Linked DNA regions of Homo sapiens: all the other regions are linked to region 2. Evidence: promoter capture Hi-C in human tissues and cell types (Jung and others, 2019). All regions are on one chromosome and are shown on one strand. The core of a region is centred on a gene start or on the middle of the fragment in contact, and the rest is flanking DNA. Distances in the headings are between cores, read along the strand shown.

The links. The method cuts DNA at HindIII sites, captures the fragments that hold promoters and counts their contacts. A contact is called where the count stands out against the background at its distance.
Region 1: a contact is called between a fragment that was not itself captured here and the fragment with the promoter of SLC46A2 in region 2, in 1 of the 25 tissues and cell types used here (heart left ventricle).
Region 3: a fragment that was not itself captured here is called in contact with the fragment with the promoter of SLC46A2 in region 2 in 1 of the 25 tissues and cell types used here (H1 embryonic stem cells).

The regions. Positions count from the first base shown.
Region 1 is chr9:112,112,132-112,115,518 of GRCh38, forward strand. It overlaps SUSD1 (sushi domain containing 1), which reads right to left. Exons shown (of 17, transcript NM_022486.5): 7 at 640-737. Among named protein-coding and RNA genes, the nearest start is that of SUSD1, 61 kb to the right of the region's middle. The HindIII fragment of the contact is 6,336 bases long and covers 1-3,387 here.
Region 2 is chr9:112,888,702-112,892,191 of GRCh38, forward strand. It overlaps SLC46A2 (solute carrier family 46 member 2), which reads right to left and starts at 2,175. Exons shown (of 4, transcript NM_033051.4): 1 at 852-2,175. The coding sequence starts at 1,980. The HindIII fragment of the contact is 12,966 bases long and covers 1-3,490 here.
Region 3 is chr9:112,149,190-112,152,673 of GRCh38, forward strand. SUSD1 (sushi domain containing 1) reads right to left here. Exons shown (of 17, transcript NM_022486.5): 3 at 55-210. Among named protein-coding and RNA genes, the nearest start is that of SUSD1, 24 kb to the right of the region's middle. The HindIII fragment of the contact is 3,844 bases long and covers 1-3,484 here.

The DNA of each region.
Region 1 (3,387 bases), core at 250-2,749, 780 kb before region 2:
CAGCAGACGCTCCCGGGCTTGCTCTGGGGGAGTGAAATACAAGTGCTTGGAAACAAGCAATCGTGAGGATGCCAAATATAAATGCATCCCCCACACATGCACCCTGCTGAATGACAAATATGTTAAACACAAAATGCAAAATAACGAAATCATCCAGATATCTTCAAAAATTCCATCCACTCTTTTTAAATGACAATGGGATCAGAAAGCAATTAGATTGAGGCCAGGCGCGGTGGCTCATGCCTATAATCCCAGCACTCTGGGAGGCCGAGGTAGGTGGATTATCTGAGGTCAGAAGTTCAAGACCAGCCTGGCCAACGTGGTGAAACCCCATCTCTACTGAAAATACAAAAAATTAGCCAAGCATGGTAGTGCACACCTCTAATCCCAGCTACTCAGGAGGCTGAGGCAGGAGAATCGCTTGAACCCGGGAGGCTGAGGTTGCAGTGAGCCAAGATCCCACCACTGCACTCCAGCCTGGGCAACAGAGTGAGACTGTCTCACAAAAAAAATAAAAGAAAAAAAGAAAAAAAAACAGCAATTAGATTGAGAAGCTCTCACGGAAGCAAGTCCCTCTGACTCATATTCCCATGGGTGACGTGTCTGTCCTAGCAGGAAAAAGTAGATCACTTTACTTACCACATATGAGATCTTGGGGTTTATTCTTCTTGAGTTTATTTGCCATCTCACACAGGTATCATTAAACAGTGATACATCATTAATCTTTGTCAGAATTTCTAAAAGAGAAAAAGGCAGTCAACTCACAAAATGCATCAATGGGCTTTAGCAAAATTCTAAAGGAGATCAGTCTCTCTGCATAGCTGGTATCTCTGCTGGTCACCATTCATCCTCAGAGGCAGACACTGAGTCAGGCAATGCAAGCTCTCCCAAGCCAATCACCCAACTTCTCTTCATCATGAATGAGCGTGGCCCATTACCTGACTTAGAGGGAAAGGAAAGATTCCAGCTTGGATATAGGTCAGAATTCTAACCTGTGATTCACCTGACAGGCCACTGGATGCCACTGGCATTCCACTCTGGTAGAATGGAATGAGGCCCAGAGCTGGGTCCTCAGTGAGACCTTCCCTGCAACTGCACAGGTAAGACCTACTTCCACCTTTCTCTTCCCAGCAGAATGATGGGAAACTCCTTCAAGTCACTGCTATCCCCAGGGGGAAAATGACATGTCTCACCACACAGGACCATGCCTCAGAAACAGGTTGGGGCAAACTAAAGAAATTCTCCACAAGGTTCCTAGGTACTTCTGGGACTCCTGTAACTGAAGCTATTTAATCCTGGTCTATCAGGATGCCACTGATTCCTCTGGGTTGTTCTGCTTCTTTTAAATATTCTGCATATATTCCAGCTAATGAATTCAGCAATGTGGGAAACCATATGAAGGCCTTGGTTCCCTGAGGTAACATAGTTTTCAGCATTCCCAGTCAACCCGCAAGTGGTTGTGCAGACAGGAAGAACGAAAGGGGATCTAGCTTTTTATTTCTTTGAAATCAAATTCCCAGCCGAGTGCAGTGGCTCACACCTGTAATCTCAGCACTTTGGGAGGCCAAGGTTGGCGGATTACCTGAGCTCAGAAGTTTGAGACCAGCCTGGCCAACATAGTGAAACCCCATCTCTACTAAAAATACAAAACTTAGCGGTGCACGGTGGCACATGCCTGTAATCTCAACTACCTGGGAGGCTGAGGCAGGAGAATCACTTGAACCTGGGAGGCAGAGGTTGCAGTGAGCTGAGATTGCACCACTGCACTCCAGCCTGGGTGACGGAGCAAAACTCCATCTCAAAAGTAATAAAATAAAATAAAATAAACTTCCTACAGACAAGTAAAACTATCTCTACTTGCAAATGATACAATCTTATATACTTCTATATATAAAACTCTAAGGAATCCACACCAAAACAAGTATTACAGCTGAGAAAGGAGGTCAGTGAGGTTGCGGGATACAAGGTCAATGTACAAAAATCTATTGTATTTCTATATACTAGCAATGAGCAGTCCAAAGATGAAATTAAGAAAACAATTTCATTTACAATACTATCAAAAACAAACAGGCCTGGTGCAATAGCTCACGCCTGTAATCACAGCACTTTGGGAGGCCAAGGCAGGTTGGTCACCTGAAGTCAGGAGTTCAAGACCAGCCTGGCTAACATGGCAAAACCCCGTCTCTACTAAAAATACAAAAATTAGCTGGGCATGGTGGTGCATGCCTGTAGTCCCAGCTACTTGGGAGGCTGAGGCAGGAGAATCACTTGAACCTGGGAGGCAGAGGTGGCAGTGAGCCAAGATCCTGCCACTGCACTCCAGCCTGGGTGACAGAGTGAGACTCCATCTCAAAAACAAAAACAAAAACAAACAAACAAAATTCCTGCAGACAGAAGCTATCATATAATTATTCCCAGAGAAAGTTGTCCTCATGTCACCAAAAAGGGATATTCCACAGCCCCAGCTCAAGCTTTCCCATTGAAGCAGACACCTCTTAAGAACTCCTCAGCCTCTCTCAGCTTCCCCTGCTCCTTGTCCCATCCCTGGATGGGTTTTGACAACATGACCAGGTCTTGCCTCCTATTCTGGGACTTCCCTGCTGCAGCACCCACACCCCAGCACATGCCATCTGGAAGTGCAGGGGAGTTAAAATCCTGTGGGGACAGGAGCTGGTAGAGAAATCCTTCCTCCTTTCTTTCCTCTGAAGGGCTGTCCAACAAAGACTTAGTTTCTTCAGCGTCTAAGGACACTGTCACACAGATGTGGTAATGCCCACCCTCTGTGGAGACCAGTACAATCAGGCATCATACGCTGACTCTCCTTCTTTCCCTGTTTTACTGCCCTTGTTTCCCACTCCTGGTGCCTGGGATTTGATTCTCTACTGCATAATAAATATAAACCCAGTGAAAGGCTCCCATCTAAGAAGAGTGAGAAAGCTATTTCTCCATGTCAGAAAATGACTCTCCACAACTCAGCTCCCGTTTCTCCCTTCTAGTAAATCTCTTCGCAGTCTCCAAGTGCAAAAGGAAGCCTGCACCTTAGGTACCTGTAGGGCCAATCCTATTCTCCTGTACTCAGAACCAATGCTAGCTTTGGATTGACCCAGATCTACTGACCTCTCTGCCCAAAGAAGAGTTTATATCTTTACTAAATCATCCCTTCAGCAGCAATGCCTAGATTCTGTGTCCCACATGACCTGGTCTTGGGTAAGCCCAAGTTATCTATTAGCAAGTGAAAATCAATGGAGGCAGAGAGGGAAAAATAGGCAAACTCCTGCCGAGATACCAGAAAGGCCACCTATGGCTGTCTGCAGCATTCCTGGATCTCTATATCAGTATTTCTCCCTAGAACACACACAATTTGAAATCAAAGAAATACTCCAATTG
Region 2 (3,490 bases), core at 925-3,424:
TGTGCCCTCAGATGGAAACTTAATGCTGCTTCCTTGGGGAATTTATTACATTGGTTGTGGAAGGCATTTACCGAGTATTTTAATGCATTTTTAAAAAGCCCTTGCTTGACTCCAAATGATTTTAATTAAGGGATCTTTTCAGTAGAATTACTTGAAATTCCACTCCTCCACGTTTTTTTTTTTTTGTTTGTTTGTTTTTTTTTTTTTGAGACAGAGTCTTGCTCTATCACCCAGGCTAGAGTGCAGTGGCACAATCTCGGCTCACTACAACCGCTGCCTCTTGGGTTCAAGTGATTCTTGTGCCTCAGCTTCCTGAGTAGCTAGGACTACAGGTGTGCACCACCACACCTGGCTAATTTTTATGCTTTTGGTAGAGATGAGGTTTTGCTATATTGGCCAGGCTGGTCTTGAACTCCTGGCCTCAAGTGATCCTCCCACCTCCCGCCCAAAGTGCTGGGATTACAGGCGAGAGCCTCTGCGCTCGGCCTTTGAAATTCCATCCCTTTAAAATGGCAAGGGGGTGTGGGGGAAGAAACCCAATTCCATCTCCTCTGTTGAAGGCCATCCTGAAGCCTCCCCTACTGACTCCAGGTACCACTGACCACACCTCCTTGACTGCCCAGAACCATGAACACCACTCTGGTAACATTTCATTCTCAATATAGATAATTAATTAACAATACATTACAGATAAACTCAGGGGCATATAATCTTGTGTCCCTTGTGCCTCCTAGGTAGCAGGTTCAATCCCTGGTGCTGAGCTAGGACACCCAGACCATGGCATCCCTGGTGTCAGCCCCATGATGCAGAGGGCTAGCAATGTCCTGCCTCCTCAAGAATGACAGACTCACCAATATAGAACATGTATGTCTCTTTCACAAAAGCCAAGAGGAGGGCTCCTGACCCAAAGGAGACCATCCCAATCATGATCATGGTGGTGTCCCGAAAGCAGCGGGAGAAGACCAGGACACCCAGGAAGCTGGTGATGAAGATGGTGTACCCTGCAGCCATACCATAGCCCACCTGCACTTGGTTCCAACCGAGAGGCTCCCTCAGCACAAAAAGAGGGATCACGTCCACTGTGCCCACCACCGCCAGGTCATATATGATAGCACCCACAAAGAGCAAGGCAATGGTGGTTTTATGGGGTTTTGCTTTTCCAGGAGATGGAGGGTGCCCCACTGCATACTGTTGGTCCAACTGATCAGGATCCAGAGTGCGGTATGTGCCAACCGTGCCAGACACGGTATCCACGGCGGGGAGCTCCTGGCTGGGTTTGGCCACCGACTCAGGGACCTTTAGCACCAAAAGGCTGTAGAGCAGGGCAAACGAGGCACAGCTCACGCTGCAGGCCGTCAGTATCAGGCCCTGCCCAGAGTGCCCAGCCATCTGCTTGAAGAGATGCCCGGAAGCCATGCTCCCGCAGAACCCCGCCAAGCCCAGCATCAGGTCAATGAGGATGAGGCGCACAGAGCGGCGGCCCTCGGAGGAGCCCAGCGATCCCAGCGCCATGACCCCGGACCAGAAGGCGGAGAAGCCGCCGAATAGCCCGTTCAGCGCCGCCGCCCCGTACAGCACCTCCACTGGCCAGTCCAGCAGCACCTTGAGCAGCAGCCCGAGGCGGGAGAGCAGGAAGCCCAGCAGCGACATGCAGATGGAGATCTTTCGGTGGTAGCGGTCGCTGAGCCATCCCAGCCCGTAGGCGGACAGCAGGGGGGACAGGCCCACCACAAGGTTGTAGATAATGTAGAAATTGGAGATGGCTCTCTGCTGTTGGTCCTCTAGAGCCCCCCGGGGCGATGGGCTGGCACTGTGGTTGGAGGAGCCTCCGGTTCCGTAGGACGCCTTCACCACGAGGAGTAGCCCCGCATCGTAGAGGGAGGCAGCCACCTGGGACGAGGCCACCACGGGCTCAACCCAGGTCCTCGGGTGGAAGCGAGGCAGGTGGCCCCTCCGCGGGCAGGTGACCTCGGGGCTCATGTGACCTCTCTGATGGGGATCGAAGGGCTTTCTGGCTGCAGTGACAAGGATATGCTCCCAAATTCGGCTGCTACGGCTGCTCAGGTTTCAGTCCCGGAGCGCGAGTGTGCTCCGTGCGCCGGGAGCGCGAGTGTGCTCCGTGCGCCGGGAGCGCGCCGGCCAGTGGCGAGCAGAGCCAGGGCACGCAGCGCCTGTGACAGCAGCCCGCCCAGCAGCCGAGTGACCTCCCGAGTGACTCCTCCTCAGGCCAGAAAAGGCCGCGCTCCACCCTGCCCTCGCCACCTCAGGCAGAGTAGGACTGGCGACAGTCCAGGGAAGCCAGGCGCGGGGGAGCGCACCGCGAGTGCTGGCTCCTGGCGCCAGCACCCCCGGGGCCGACGGGTCACGCTGCTCCTGTGAGCGCGGCCGCCTGACGGGGCCGAATTTCCCCACAGCCAGGCGTGCGTGCCCGGACCTCCCGCGGATCTCTGCGGACCCCCCACCACCGGGGCAGGGGCTGGAAGGAAGCTCCCCAGGACTGGCTCAGGGAGCGTTTCCAAATTCTCCCATCCCAGGAAGGCAGGTTTGCGCGAGGGGTGGGACGCCTAGGATTCTGCCTAGGATAAGTATTGGGGTGTGAAGTTTTATTTATAGATTTAATGCAACAGGGGCCCATGTGCTATAGGCAGCTGGGTAGCACTTTGAGAGAAGTAAAAACTTGGGAGCCGCCAGGTCCAGGCTCTTCTCCAAGCCAAAGGCCTCTTAGAGAAGAGTCCTGTTTGGTACACCTGCATTGGTGGGCCTAGTGCCTGGGCCTTGTCTAGAAGGCTCCTGCCCCAAACCCCAGGGCCAAGGGAGAGACGGCAAGATCCTGCCAGCCCTAGATGTCCCCCTAGATGATAAAACTGGACTCTTGGGCAGGGGCTTGAGCCCACTGGAAGGGGCAGAGTCACCAGGGTCCTCATCTGAATCAAGTGCCCAGGTCCCTTTCTGCTTGTTAGTAGTCACTCTTCTTCTGTCTGTGGGCTCACTCCCCTGGGCTGGGCTGAGACCTCCACTTCCCAGGTGGCCTCGCTTCTTGTTTAGGTACATACTTCTGCAAAGAAAACCAGGGTGATGGATGGTGCAGGGGCCAAAATGTACCACAGAGCATGACCTGTTCCATGGTCAGCCCCAGGGATGGAGACTCAAAGCACACAGCCTTCCTGTCCCTCTACCCACAATCCACTATAGCTCTGGCAGCGTGGATGATCAGGAACCCAAAGACATGAAAGGGAGACGCAGGTATGCAGGGAGAGCTTAAAATGCCACATGGATAATATACTCATGTAGGGAGTAGGGACTGGATTCCAAATGATTTAGTGTATCTATGTGCTCTTTTGGTAGTGTTTAGGTGGGCTATAATCTCCTCCCCTGCCACCCTCAACCTCCAGCATGGCCCAGCCTCCTCGTGTCTAGGCCCAGACGACTCTGCCTTCTGCAAAGAGAAAGACACACCTAGTCTTGCCCTTCAAGATGTGCCCCATGGATC
Region 3 (3,484 bases), core at 404-2,903, 740 kb before region 2:
AGATACTATCCTGCCATCGCCAATTGTCAACACCGCAGCCCCCTTCTTGAGTACCTGTACAAAAGGTGCCATCGTTGGGAATGAATGTCTTGTTGTTGTTTGTGGCTCGATATCCTTCCAGGCAAATGCAATAGAAGCCCCCGGGGGTGTTGTGGCAAGATGTGTGGTTCCCACAGACAAGAGTGGCTCCAAACTGGCACTCATTTTTATCTGTTGACACACAGACAAGGCACCGGAAGAGCTATCAATCCACACCGACTTCAACAGCCCAGACTGTCCTCCCATGCTATGGACTCGGGAACCAACGTTCTGTGACCACACCTTAGTGATCTATTTCTCCAGCCTCTTCTCCTTTCACGATGCTCCCCAGACTACAGGACCTGGGCCCCTCGTAGTTATGTGCCAGGAGTGTATGAAACCCCAAGAGAAACACAACACCTCAATCTGGCAATCCGTCTGATTTGAAGATTGGGAGAAGAGGGTTCTCTTTGAACTTTTCCAAGCTTAAAAAGATCTTTTCAGAGGCCCACGGAAACAAACCAGCAGAATTCCCCTTTTCCAGTTCAGCCATTCTCATGGTTTTCCATGAAAGCCAGGGTAGGGTGACTTTACAGCCAGTGATTAACTGGAAAATTTCTTCCTTCTGAACTACCAAGAAACACAATGGAATTAGTGCTGCAGCCTCATCCGGAGCAGGGCTAATGCAGAAGCAGGAATAGCTCATGCTAATGGTCAATGACCTGTGGTGAATAATGTTAGTCCCTCAGTGCAGAGGCCTGGAACATGGATGCTCGATGAGTCCCCAGAAGCTTGCCCAGAGTGTTTTTCATTGAATAATATGAAAGTGAAAGATGCAAAATGAACGTAAATCTCCCTCTCATCTCTGCCCTCTAGCTCAGGGGTCAGCAAACTTTTTCTCACAGTATCTGTTGCAACAACTCACCTGTGCTCATGGGCACGAAAGCAGCTGTAGACAACAGGTAAACTACCAAGCAATGCTACGTACCAGTAAAACTCCACCTACAGAAACAGGCAGCAGGTCGAACTTGGCCCATGGGCCATAGTTTGCTGACTCTGCCTAACCCTCTAATTTAAGAGGAAACTCCTGTGACCAAATTGTTTATGCATCCTTTTAGAGCTGATCTACACAGTTAGCTTTTTTTGGGAGAAAAATCATCAACTTATGAATTTGTAGCTTGTTTGTTACTTCGTGTTTTATTTCACCAGTGGGCCCCTCATATCCGTTTAATGGCCTCTCACAATTGCACTCAATTCTTATTCAACCAAAAGTACCCTCCAGAAGATCTGGGTGGGTTTTTTATTATTATTTTTATTTTACAGTCATATGTCACTTAATGATGGGGACACATACTGAGGATTGTGTCATTAGGCAAGTTCATGATTGTGGGAACATCATAGGGTGTATTTACACAAACCTAAATGGCATAGCCAACTACACACTTAGGTTATATGGTAGAGTGTAGTGCTCCTAGGCTAGAAACCTGTATAGCATGTTACTGTACTGAATACCGTAGGCAACTGTAACACAGTGGGAAGTATTAGTGTATCTAAATATATCTAAACATAGAAGTGGTACAGTAAAAATACAGTATAAAATGTAAAAAACTGATACATCTCTAGAGAGCACTTACCATGAAATGGAACTTGCAGGACTGGAAGCTGCTCTAGGTAAGTCAGTGAGTGAGTGAATAGGAAGGCCTAGAACGTTATGATACATGACTGTAGACTTTTATTTTTATATAGAGACAGGGTCTCCCTCTGTCACCCAGGCTAAATTGCACTGGCACGATCATAGCTCACTGCAGCCTTGAACTCCTGGGCTCAAGCAATCCTCTTGCCTCAGCCTCCTGGGGCTAGGAGCAGCTAGCACTACAGGCACAAGCCATCGTGCCCAGTTAATTTCTAGTTTCTAATTGTAGAGATCAGCTCTCACTATGTTGCCCAGGCTGGTCTCAAACTCCTGGCCTTAAGGGATCCTCCCACCTTAGCCTCCCAAAGAGCTCCCAAAGGGATTACAGGTGTGAGCCACCACATCCAGCCTTACTGTAAACTTTCTAAACACTGTACACATAGGCTACACTAAATTTATAAAAGTATCTTTCTTGGCCAGGCACGTTGGTTCACACCTGTAATCCCAGAACTTTGGGAGGCTGAGGCAGGAGGATCGCCTGAGGTCAGGAGTTCGAGACCAGCCTGGCCAACATGGTGAAACCCCATCTCTACTAAAAATACAAAAATTAGCTGGGCATAATGGCGGGCACCTGTAATTCCAACTACTCAGGAGGCTGAGGCAGGAGAATTGCTTGAACCCGGGAAGTGGAGGTTGTAGCAAGCAGAGATCATGCCATTGCACTCCAGCTGGGCAACAAGAGTGAAATTCCATCTCAAAAAAAAAAAAGTATCTTTCTTGGCCGGGCACAGTGGCTCACGTCTGTAATCCCAGCACTTTGGGAGGCCAAGGCAGGCAGATCACCTGAGGTCAGGAGTTCAAGACCATCCTGGCCAACAAGGTGAAACCCCGTCTCTACTAAAAATACAAAAATTAGGCCGGGTGCGGTGGCTCATGCCTGTAATCCCAGCACTTTGGGAGGCTGAGGTGGGCGGATCACCTGAGGTCAGGAGTTCAAGACCAGCCTCAACATGGAGAAACCCCGTCTCTACTAAAAATACAAAATTAGCCGGGCACAGTGGTACATGCCTGTAATCTCAGTTACTCAGGAGGCTGAGGCAGGAGAATTGCTTGAACCTGGGAGGCAGAGGTTGCAGTGAGCCAAGATCGCGCCATTGCACTCCAGCCTGGGCAACAAGAGCAAAACTCCATCTCAAAAAAAAAAATACAAAAATTAGCCAGTTGTGGTGGTGCACGCCTGTAATCCCAGCTACTTGGGAGGCTGAGGCAGGAGAATCATTTGAACCCAGGAGGCGGAGGTTGCAGTGAGCCGAGATCGCGCCATTGCACTCCAGCCAGGGTGACAGAGTGAGACTCTGTCTCAAAAAAAAAAAAAAAAGGGATCTTTCTTCAATAATAAATTAACTTTAGCTTACTGTAGCTTTTTTACTTAAACTTTTCAATTTTTTTAACTTATTGACTCTTTTGTAATAATGCTTAACTTAAAATACAAACACATTCTACAGCTGTACGAAGAATTTTTTTTTGTTTCTTTATATGAAATTCTATATGGTTTTTTTTGTTTTTTGTTTTTTTTCTGGAGACAGGGTCTTGCTCTGTCACCCTGACTGGAGTGCAGTGGTGTGATCATAGCTCACTGCAACCTCAACCTCCTAAGCTCAAGTGATTCTCCCACCCCAACCTCCCTGAGTAGCTAGGACCACAGGTGACTGCTACTGTGCCTGGATAATTTTTTTTTTTTTTTTTTGTACAGATGGAGGGGTCTCAATATGTTGCTCAGACTCATCTCGAACTCCTGGCCTCAAGGATTCCTTGTGCCTCCACGTCCCAAAG